Linked DNA regions of Homo sapiens: region 1 is linked to region 2. The links are contacts of gene promoters, found by promoter capture Hi-C in human tissues and cell types (Jung and others, 2019). All regions are on one chromosome and are shown on one strand. Each heading gives the region's core, a stretch centred on a gene start or on the middle of the fragment in contact. The rest is flanking DNA. Distances are from core to core; before and after follow the strand shown. Region 1 overlaps ATRN (attractin). Region 2 holds the start of GFRA4 (GDNF family receptor alpha 4).

Region 1 (5,800 bases), core at 1,917-4,416, 45 kb before region 2:
ATAATCTTCCTTATATGTATATACCACGTTTTGTTTATCCATTTTTCTATCGATGGATGCTTGGGTGGTTTTCACTCTTTGGCTATTATGAATAGTGTCAGATATACTTTTAATGTTTATATTTATTGTATAATAACAGTGCATATCCGTACCTCCTGGTGTTAATTGTCTGTATCTTAAGAGTTTTAAGAATTATATGGTTGTGCTGTAATTCTAGCACTTAGGGAGGCCGAGGCGGGCAGATCGCTTTAGCTCAGGAGTTTGAGACCAGGCTGGGCAACATAGTAAAACCCTGTCTCTACTAAAGTACAAAAAATTAGCTGGGCGTGGTGAAGTGTTCCTGTAGTCCCAGCTACTTGCAAGGCTGAGGCACAAGAATCACTTGAACCCAGGAGGCAGATGTTGCAGCGAGCCAAGATTGCACCACTGTACTGCAGCCTGAGCGACAGAGCAAGACTCCTGTCTCCAAAAAAAAAAAAAATTTTTCTTTATGATGAAACCCACAAGGCTGTACAAGAACCTTAAATATAGTTTGAAACAAAGAAAGACACATGCTTTTAAGTACAGTTTAATTCTTTTCTTTTTTCTTTTTTCTTTTTTTTTTTTTTTGGAGACAGAGTCTCACTCTGTCGCCCAGGCTGGAGTACAGTGGTGCAATCTTGGCTCGCTGCAACATCTGCCTCCTGGGTTCAAGTGATTCTCGTGCCTCAGCCTTGCGAGTAGCTGGGACTACAGGAACACTTCACCACGCCCAGCTAATTTTTTGTATTTTAGTAGAGACAGGGTTTTACCATGTTGCCCCCATCATTCTCAGCAAACTATCGCAAGGACAAAAAACTGAACACCGCTTGTTCTCATTCATAGGTGCAAACTGAACAATGAGGACGCATGGACACAGGAAGGGGAACATCACACACCAGGGCCTGTTGTGGGGTGGGGGGAAGGGGAAGGGATAGCATTAGGGGATATACCTAATGTTAAATGACGAGTTAATGGGTGCAGCACACCAACATGGCATATGTATACATATGTAACAAACCTGCATGTTGTGCACATGTACCCTAAAACTTAAAGTATAATTAAAAAAAAAAAAAAGAAAAATGTGTTATTCCTTTGTCTCGAAAGTCCCCTGCTTTTCAGCTTTCGCTTTGGTTGTCTCTTGTCAGCTCTTTAATGCTATTGTTCCCTTGGGTTTCATCTGGACTCTTTTTCCCTGGGCAATCTCATCCACACCATCTGGGAACATTGCCTTTGGCTGGACAGGTAAATCTTTGTCTCTAGCAGACTTCTCTCCTGTGATCTCCAGAGCCAGGAACCCACTAGACTTCCTTAAAATTCATTCAGCCAGCAGACTTTCTGGCCCAGAGCAGCAGCTGTGAGTGGACAGCAGGCACCTCGTTAGAAGCTCGGTGTTGGAGGTGTGCCCATGCATTCCTGGGAGCCATGAGAGGGGAGGGGAGTGCCCTGTGTCACCTGAGTCCAAGTTAAGAGAGATCACACCAGAGCTGATTCCTAAGGAGCATGGGGGCGGGGGAAGGGGGTGTTCGTGGTGGGGAAAGGAAATGACCAGCCCTTTCAGGAACTACCAGGAGTTTAGCAGAGCTGGTGACAGTGCTATGAGCAAGAAGGTGGAGAGCTGGGGAGGGCCATTATGAAGAGACTGGAGATTGCAGGCTGTGAACTTGAGTCCTGATGTGACTGGGAATTGTTGAGATGTTTTAGGCCGAAAAGTCACCGACGATCAGTGTTTAGAAAGACCCCACTGGCAGCAGTTGGGAGTGTGGATTGGAAGGAGCCAGGCCTAAGTCCTGGGAGGACTTAGGAGGTCCAGGAGTCCAGGGAGTCCAGGTGGAATTCTTGTGTAGAAACCCAGGGAAGGGGACCATCTGATGACACACATCCCATAGCAACTTCCTTTCCTCCTCTGCACCTCCACAGCAGAGTGTCTGTTTCCACTATACGAAGATTTCTTAATGGCAAGGATCGCATTTTTATCCCTCAGTGTCCTCAGTGTCATGTGCTAATCAGTTGGAGATACTCCCTAAATGTATGCCAGATGAGTATATAGTTGTTAGTATAAGGGCTTTACGGTAGGTATCAGAACTTTTTCTTTTTTACAACTTTTATAACTTTTATAAAGGAGCCGACACCTTTTTCTGATATTGTCAGAACAATTGCTGACCAGTGCTATGGGCTGGCTGAGGTTGGCAACCAAGAATCTGTTATCTCAGTCTACACAGCGTGGAGTTAGAAGATTGGATTGTTGTTGGTTAGAATTTTGTCCAGAGAGTTAGAAGATAGAAGAAAAGGGAGGGCTGAGGACATAAACATCCAAATTTTACAAAGAAGAAAGTTCAGTGCTCCTGTCAATATTGAAATAGTTAAGAGGGAAATGATTGGGTCTGGGGAATGCTTCAAAATAATATGATCATAGGGAAAGTAAGTGTAGTGTGGATGAAACAAGGTTGGCCTTGAGCTGATAATTTACTAAAGCAGGATGATGAGCGTGTGAGGTTCATTATAGTGCTCTTTCTACTTTTTAAAAAGCTTAAGATTTTCCAAAATGAAAAAGAAGCTGAGCATGGTAGCTCATGTCTGTAATCCCAGCACTTTGAGAGCCTGAGACGGAAGGATCACTTGAAGCCAGGAGTTCGAGACCAGCCTGGGCAATATAGTGAGACCCCCATCCCTACTAAAAAAGAAAAAAAATTACACAATGAAAAGAATAATACAGGTGGTAGAAGAAGAAATAAAGGTATGAGTATATGATTTGGCCTCCTACAGACAGCTACAGGAGCATGCCTCTGCTGGGCGGGCCTGGAGCATAGTGCACCCTGGAGCTGAAGTTCTGTTCGCCTTTACAGGAAGTACACAGCATTGTACGGGGGTTTTACCAGTTAACAGTGGACAGTCTCTAGAACACTCAGGGGTCAGGGGCAAAACTCCCTCTCCCTCAAACCAGCCCACCTGTCTTGGTGAGAATGGAAAACGGAGCTTCCCAGCAAGCCTCCTGCCTTCACCCCGACGCACAGGTGCATCAGGGTCTGAGGGCTCCTCCCTGTGGGGCCTGGGAAGCCGCCCTTCAGTGGGCTATGGCTGCATTGTCTTCTGATCTTGTAGCTGTGTGTGGGTAACAGGCACATCGTCTCCCCATATCCCAGAGAGTCATGTCCACTTCCTATCTGTGGTGGCATCTTTCCATCACTGTCACCCTCAGGATAATGGCACAGGAACTAACAGAGGCACTAAGAGCAGTGATATATACTGGAGGGAGGGGCGGGGCTGATGACCAAAATCACCTTCTGTTTCAGTAAGAGGTTGGTTAAAGTGATGCCTAAAATGGATAGATCAGGAAATAACAATAAAAACATTAATGATAAAAAGGCAACTGCCAGAAGAACTGAAAAGTAACCTAGTTCAAGGTGGGGGTCCCTGGAGAGAAGCCTTCAGAAGAGCAGAGGAAGAGCAGGGAACATTGCTTTTCATGACTAGCCTTTCAGTACCTTTTGATATTTCAGCTAAGTATGTAGTTCTCTAATGATTTCTAAATTGTTAATGAGTGTGATAGAATAGGAATTCTGGAGAATGGTCAAAAGGAATTGCTAGGAGAAAATTAGGGAAAGAAAGCACAGAGCAGTATTGAGGTGGGAGGTTGGGAGCAGACAGATGGTGAGTGTTCGTTTGCATGGCAGGAATGAGTGGCTGAATGGCATTAACTGGCCATGGGGCTCTGACCAGAGCTTGGGTATACAGTTTCTGTGCCAGCACAAACCAGCATTAGGTGCGTGGTGTGTGAGGCCGGGTGATGGTCATATGGATCTGGTCCAGAGCTGTGGTCTTGACATAGAGTTCCATGTATGAACTTTGGTGGTGGTGGTGGTTTTGTTTCGTTTTTTAAGAAAAAAGGAAGAGTTGTTTTATGTCACAGCCAAACTCAAGGAGGTGACAGCACAAGACCCAGGTTAGAATGTACTTAGCCAGGGCTCACGGAATCTTCCATCCTTTGCAAAGCCAAGAAGAGTAGAGGCCTCAAGGAGAATAGAGGAGCACATGGGCTCCTTCTGGGCTGAGCTCTCACCCTTGGTGGGGCCGCTGGTCCCAGGGGGTCGTTGGGAGCCTGCGGAGATTCTGCCCAGTACATACATACCTTGCGTTTTCTCGGAGCCTGACAGGTGCTGCCTTGAAGCGGAAAGACTTCACCTCACAGGGTGGCCAGCTGTCCTTTCTCTTCCTCTCCCTGTCTTGTGTGCTCATGATAATGGATAGATAGACATCTCCATGGTAGAAATAATGCAGCCCTTTCTGCAGTCCATGGTTCCACAGCATATGGTCAGTAGACTTAGATGAGTGCTACATAAAGTGTAATTAGTTCTGCACCACGGTGTCTTACCTTCTGAAAAGGAAACTCTGGTATTGACTTAGAAATGCCAGTTTTATCCTTCCGACCAGAACGCAAGTCCTGAATGAGGCCAGAGGCCAATGAAAGGTCCTTTCTTCTCTCTTTTCAAATCTGCTGTATTAAACAGTGACTTTTCCTAGTCATTCAGTATTCATTCATTCATCCATTTATTCAAGTTTTTGAGTACCTTCTTTGTGGATGGCACATAGTAGATGCAAAAATACAATCATTTTTAAAATGGAAAGCATTTGTTATGTGGTAGTGGAATATAAGAAATGCCATGCTTCCATATTTTTATGGTAATCTTGGACTCAGGTTCTACCCACCATACTTAATTAGAAATTCATTCTCAGCCTCTGTTTTGGCAGAGACCCATTCTCTTCCCTCAGGAACATACAGAAACCTCAGGGCTGAACTGAGCTCAGAGGTTGGGGAAGGTCCCCTGGTCTGATCTTCAGTCGCTGACTGCTGCGCCCGATTCCCTGGCCCCTCACTCTTGAGGGCAGCATCCTCACTCTTGTGTGGCACAGGCTTGGACATAGAATGACACTTAAGCACCAGAGCCTCCCTAGCCTGCCACAAGGACACCCTACATTCCCAGGCACTTTCAGAATGCAAAACCTCCCCTCCATTCCCTCCCTTTCCCTGCCTCCAGGTTTGGGCCCTGCCTCTCCTTTTGTTTCAAAGCACTGTCCTCTCTTCCTCTACCCTTATCCTTCCCCATCTCCCTCCCACTCCCCAAAAGAGCCAAACTAATTATGGGGATTTAACCTTCCAATTAAAGGCGAGGATTTTTTTTTTTCAATGCAGTTCCTGAAATGCTAAAGAAATTGTCCAGGGAAAGGAGCACAGGAGGAGTTTTGTTTTGTTTTGTTTTGTTTTGTTTTGTTTTGTTTTGTTTTGAGACAGTCTCGCTCTGTCACCCAGGCTGGAGTGCAGTGGTGCGATCTTGGCTTACCGCAACCTCTCCACCTCCTGGGTTTGAGCAATTCTTGTGCCTCAGCCCCCCAAGTAGCTGGGATCACAGGTGCACACCACCACGCCAGCTAATTTTTGTATTTTTAGTAGAAATGGGGTTTTGCCATGTTGGCCAGGCTGGTTTCGACCTCCTGGCCTCAAGTGATCCACCCACCTCAGCCTCCCAAAGTACTGGGATTAGGCGTGAGCCACTGCATCCAGCCTGATGTTTAAATAATTTCTTACTTCAGAGTTTCCTGAAGTGTGGCCTATGGAGACTAGCATCAGAATCACTGGAGGAGCTTAAAGATATAGAGACAGGGATAGGGCCTGAGATTCTGACTTTGTTGTAAGCTATCCAGAGTTTGAGAGCCATGGCCTAGTTCTTGGAATACAAAAGTGTATCTGCTCTTGTATGGGAGGTAGGAAGTTACCTTTTCATTC
Region 2 (5,838 bases), core at 3,311-5,810:
GATCGTTTCACCCCAGGGGTTCAGGGCTGCAGTGGACTATGATCATGCCACTGCACTACTGCCTGGTGACAGAGTGAGACCCTGTCTCAAAAACAAACAGACAAAAAAAATCAATGCTCTTAGCATCTGCTGGGTCCACATTGGGCAGTGTGTGTGACGTGGTCCAGCTGCAAGGGAGGCTGGGAAATGCAGTTTCATTATCTGAGTACTAGTGGAGAAAGAAGAGACGAAAGCAATGAGAATCCCTGCCATGAGGAAGTGAGAGCTGATTCATTTCAGCTTCCTTAGGTGAGGTGATGGGGCCCAGACAGGTTCTGAGGCCACTGGAGGTCACACAGGCCAGCAGGGATACACCCAGTGGTAGACCCTGGTCTCCAGGCTCCCAGGACACAGACCACATAAAAGCAAGGTCAGTCTCAGCACACAGATTTAATAAGCACTGTATGTTATTCCTACAGCTGCAGGAAACCAGGGGGAAGATGGCCACAGGGCCAATGCCAGGCAGGGCACAGGGTGGGGCCCCTCAAGCAGCATATGGGGAACAGGAAAGACTCTGCCAGCATGGTCATGGCGCACAGGTGGCTACAATGGTGGGTAATGCCCAGTTGGGAGGATGCAGTGTTAGACGGGGTCTTGTCCGATGGATTCCTTAGGGGGTTATATGCTTGGGAGGCTGATACAATTTCCTAGAATTCTGGGATTCTGGATGGTCTCTGACCTGCTCTAGGGGATCTGGGTCTCCAGAGAGGTCTCAGCTACAAAAGTGACCCTCTCCTGACCCCACCTTGTGGGAGACCCCAGTGGTCTCAAGGTCTGTGAATAAAGGGACTTACAACCAAGATGCCTCCTGACAGGGAGACGGGGGCTTTACAGTCAGGCCCCAGCCTACATCCCTTGCCCCAGGGGACGGCACACAGGGTGTCCAAACCTACAAAGGGCAGCGGAGTGAAAGCACCAGGGCCGGCTTGGGGGGTAAGCCAGCCCCTTCTCAAGGGGCCAGTAGGCCACAGAGGCGGCCCAGGCAGGCAGGGTGGAGTAGCTGGCTGTGCTATCCGAGGTCGCTGTCCTAATCAGAGCAGGGCCGGGAGAGCCAGGACAGGAAGTATGGAGAGCAGGGAGCGTCTCTCCAGGGCCCTGCCTGTGGAGGACACCTTGGGGGTGGGAGCCAAGTGCAGACTTGAGGCAAAAGCCTGTCTCTGCCCTCTGCCTGCACCCCCACCCCAGGCCCTTCATGCCTCCACCCAGGCCCACCAGGGACGGAAGGGTGTGAAGGTGACAGTGGGGGAGGTGCCAGCTCACCCTCCCCTCCCTGCACCTACCTGCAGGAGGCTGTGCTCCGGGTCTCCCTGGGGGTTCAGCTGGTCCAGCAGGACTGGGGGCCACCCGCTGGCAAAGGCCTGAATGGCACCATCTATGGAGGGAGGGGTCCAGGGTGGACTTAGCTGGGAAACCCTAGCACAGGGCTCAGCACAGGGGACAAAGTGAGAGACCCCCTGCTGCAAAGACTGGCTCCTTGGACAGAAGGTGTGTGGTGAGGAATAACAAAATAATAAGCACAGCTGTGACAGAGTGACTCAACTGTACAGTCTTCCATTCTCCCCTCTAAAATGGCTCCCAGCCAGGCGGCTTGGGAGGGGGCAGTAAGCGCCGCCCCCACTCCCCCTCCACTCCCCCCCGGGCCCCTCACCCAAGCAGCGGTTCCTGGTAAAGAGCCCCCGGAAGGCTTCGCAGTCCTCACGCCGGTTCCCGCTGGCTCCGCAGTCGCACCAGGGCGCCACGCGCGCGCTCACGTTGTCCACGTAGTTAGGGGTGACGGCGGTGCCTGCGGGGACCCTGAGGGCGAAGTCATCGGCCCACCCGGGCGGAGATATCCCCTGGAGAACCCCCGCCCTCGCCCGGATCCCGGCCGCGCGTACCCACGAGGCCCGCGTAGGCGCGCAGGCAGCGGGCGCCCTGGTCCAGCAGGCAGCCGTCGGGGGCGCTGGGCGCTGGGGTGCACGAGACCTGAAAGGCCAGGAGGCGAGGCCTGCGCGGCGGGAGGGCGGTGAGCCGGAGAGAGGCCCCGTCCCCACCCTCGCCACGGCCCCGCCGCCGCCCGCGCGCACCTGCAGACCCGGCTGCGCTCGCAGAAGTTTAAGGGCTCAAGGCAGGAGGGCGGCGCGGGGCCGGGCCCCGAAAAGGCGCAGGAGGGCACGAAGGTCTGGCGCCGACGCTCGGCGCACGCGGGGCCCGCGCACGGGCAGAAGAGCAGTGCGTGGGTGAGCGCGGGCGGCCCGCGGGCGAAGAAGCGGCGCAGGGCCCGGCGGCAGCGGGCGCGGGGACAGCCCCCCTGCGCAGCCCGGCCCAGGCACTGCGCCACATACTCGGAGCGCAAACGCTGGCACCGCGCGTCCGCCGTGCAGGCTTCGGCCGCGTCCACACATCGGTTCCCTCCGACCGAGCTCGCCGACCCTGGGAAAGGCGCGGGGAGGCTGCAGGTCTCAGTGCGCCCCGCATGCACACTTCACCCAGCCCATCCACGCCCCTGGAAGGTGGGGGACACTGAAAACCCGAGAAAGCATAGAGTGTGGCCCAAAGGCGGGGCCGACTGGCACTGATCGGCTCTCCGTCGTGGGGATGGGCAGCGGCGGGCTCTGGAGGGCTCTGCAACACGTCAGGGATGGAGAGGGAGCATGGAGGCTGAGCCAGGCCTTCCCCAAAAGCTGAAGCCCCTCCTTCCCAAGCATCGCCACCATTTCTCCAGAACGGCCACACACGTCCAAAGACGGGTCCAGGGGCTCCTCCTACACTCAATGGCACTACCTGACGGGGGAACAATGAGGCTTTCTGGGGATCTGGCCAATGGAGACTTTAAAACCAGAGATGGCATAGAAGACAGTGGCTGCTCCTAGTCTCTTAATGACAGGCTGTGACGCCATACCTTTCCTCCTCTACCCCCTCCACCTCGCCGCTTATCCTCCACCATGGAGACCCTTTGGGTGGGTCTATTGATTTCTGTTTCTCCCTCCTTCCTGACCTCCTGCTCCTCCTCCTGCCCCCTGCATGGGTGTCTCCCCTCTCCAGCCCTTCCTGATGCTCCCTTGAGTCGAGGTCATCCTGCCCCATCTGCACTGGCTTCCTCCAGCCCCTCCACCCTTCATCAGCCAGGGGAGAGCGGATTCATGCAAGAGCTCTGGCCACTGAAGAACCCACTGAGTCCTGGCTGCCAGGGTGTGGATTCAGAGAAGTCCCTGACGACACACCGCCGGGCTTTGTCCTGAGCCACAGGACCCAAGGGTTCATCAGTGGTTTTAGTGACCAGGCCCCATGATAGGTGACACCCTGCTGGAGACAGAGAAGGTGCCTGGCACCCCAGTCACACACCAGGGGTTGGGTAGACAGAGGGTGAGCTCTGCCCACATGCCCACAGGCTGTGTCTAAATAGAGCCAGGATAACTGGAAGTTGGGACTTGGCAGCCCCTTCCCAGGATTTGAGTCACAAAAACCAGGCTAATCGAATCCCCCCCAGCCTCCACAAGTTCTCCAGTCTGGAGCATCTCATTCAGACTAGAAGCCTTTCTGGTGCCCAGCCTGAGTGGACGTGCACAGCCTGGCCCCTCATCCATCTCCCTGTGTGTTTGTGCACAGGGGCTACGGGGTGGTATCCCCCCCCCAGGGCTGGGAGCAGGGTGCCTCTCTGGCAATGGCTGTGTCTTTCAGGCTGTGGATTGGACCGCGTGGTGAGAGTGATTCCTGCTGTGACTTCAGCACCTGCCTCTGCAGGAAGGATGAACATAGCTCGAGGGCTTAGAATGGTCCCTGAGTGGAGGGGATAGATGGCAGCGGGGTGAGTCCTCCCTTCCTCCCCTCCCCAAAGGGCACACTTTGCTTTCCTCTCACAGCCTTGCCAGGCACATCCTCAGGTCTCAGCTGCACACACCAGCACCTGATGTTGCCTAAGGGTTTGAACCCACCTCTGCCTGTTGCTTACCTGTCACCCTTGCCCAGAACACCCTTACCCAGTCTCCACCCTCACAGCAGCTCATCTCAGCTGCAAGATCTCCTCCACCTTAAACCTTTACCAGATTCCACTTTCCACACTACACTCGGTAAAGTGACCCCTCCCTCCGCGACATCCATGCAGGGACGGAGCAGTCCAAGAAGGTGGAACAACAGATGAACAACACCGAAGATTCACCAAGGAATCTGTGTGATGGGTAGGAGGGCTGGGGCTGAGGGGAGGGTGAGAGAGTTGGGAGATGGCAGACAATAGGCAAAAGTTCCTGGGGCACGGGTGCCAAGGCTGGACTCGGGAGGGGGATGGCGGTGGTGGCTTGACGGGGCTGGGAGGTGAGGTGCTCAGCACATAGTGGGGTCAATTGCCAGGGGTCCCCAAGCCGTGCGCACAGGCCTCTCACTGGCAACCCTTCCTGTGGTTCAGCTTTTCCTGGAATATCTTGCCCTCCCACCTTGTCACTGAGGAGCAGGGACAGAGAGGCCAGGGTTCGGGGTCCAGGGGAAGAGAGGGGCGCTCACCCAGTAACAGCAGCAGCAGCAGCGCAGGCCCCAGGCAGCGGACCATGCTGGACCTTCAACAGAGAAGGATGGCTGGCAGAGCCCTAGTCTGATAGGCGCCCCCTTCCTAGTGCCTCTGGAGCAGGAGCACAGTGAAAACCCAGCTGTCTGCGCTGATACCCCTGGGAGGAGCCTTTGCTGCAGCAACTCCCCGCCCTCATTAAGTCTCCACCCCAGGCTGCACCGTCAGGTAAACCTGGGAGCCACGGGATTCGGCGCCTGAATGTGCCTAGACGGACCCCAACACACTAGCCCTGCCACGCACACCCAGCAACACACAGACAACCACCCAGGGAGACCTGGTCTCTCCCATGCTAAACTAGGAACGCTATGAAACAGCATTTTTCTTTTCCTTTTTTATATAATTCTATTTTAAACTTAAAAAAATTTTTTTGAATAGAGTTGGGGTCTCGCTCTATTGCGCAGGCTGGTCTTGAACTCCTGGGCTCAAACCATCCTCCCACCTCGGCCTCTCAAAGTGCTAGGATGACAGGTGTGAGCCACCATGCCTGGCCTATTTTAAACTTCTTATTGTTGACTAATTTTAGACTTGCAGAAAAGTTGGAAAATGTAAGCATTTTCCTTACACCCTTCACCCAGCTTCCCCTGATGGTCCATCTTACTTAATCATAGTCCAATCATTACAGCTAGGAAACTAACCTTGGTACAATCCTGTTAACGAAACTGTAGACTGTTTTGCATTTCTCATTTTTCCACTAATGTCCTTTTTCTGTTCCAAGATCCATTCTAGGATCCCACATCACAGTTGTCTCCTTATTCTCCTCAATCTGGGAGTTCCTTCATCTTTCCTTATCTTTACCCTTGACACTTTTGAAGAATCCTGGCCAGTTATTTTGCAGAATGTTTCTCTTGAGTTGTCTGATGTTTTATTCTGATCAGAATGAGACACAGCATTGTTTTGACTAACCAAAAAGTTATTCTATAAGTAAATATTGAGGTTAAAAATCTCATCCAACCTGGGCAACAGAGTAAGGCCCTGTCTCAAATAAAGTCTCAACACTAAGATTTAAAAAGTGACCAGAAAAGCCCCCACTATGATTTGTCTTGACTTTTTTTTAAAAAACAAACAAACAAACAAACAAACAAACAAAAACGATGTCTTGCTCTCTCTCTCCCTCAGGCTGGAGTGCAGTGGCACGATCTTGGCTCACTGCAACCTCCGCCTCCCAGGTTCAAGCGATTCTTCTGCCTCAGCCTCCCAGGTAGCTGGGATTACAGACGCCCGCCACCATGCCCGGCTAATTTTTGTATTTTTAGTAGAGA

Evidence for each region. The method cuts DNA at HindIII sites, captures the fragments that hold promoters and counts their contacts. A contact is called where the count stands out against the background at its distance.
Region 1: a contact is called between a fragment that was not itself captured here and the fragment with the promoter of GFRA4 in region 2, in 1 of the 25 tissues and cell types used here (pancreas).

What each region holds. Positions count from the first base shown.
Region 1 is chr20:3,614,964-3,620,763 of GRCh38, forward strand. All of the region lies in intron 24 of ATRN (attractin), which reads left to right. Among named protein-coding and RNA genes, the nearest start is that of GFRA4, 46 kb to the right of the region's middle. The HindIII fragment of the contact is 5,534 bases long and covers 400-5,800 here.
Region 2 is chr20:3,658,839-3,664,676 of GRCh38, forward strand. GFRA4 (GDNF family receptor alpha 4) reads right to left here and starts at 4,561. Exons shown (of 6, transcript NM_022139.4): 1 at 4,516-4,561; 2 at 2,106-2,451; 3 at 1,917-2,026; 4 at 1,688-1,822; 5 at 1,320-1,411; 6 at 410-1,151. The coding sequence starts at 4,561. The coding sequence ends at 1,071. RefSeq lists an enhancer at 245-404 and silencers at 1,937-1,986, 2,077-2,186. The HindIII fragment of the contact is 25,120 bases long and covers 1-5,838 here.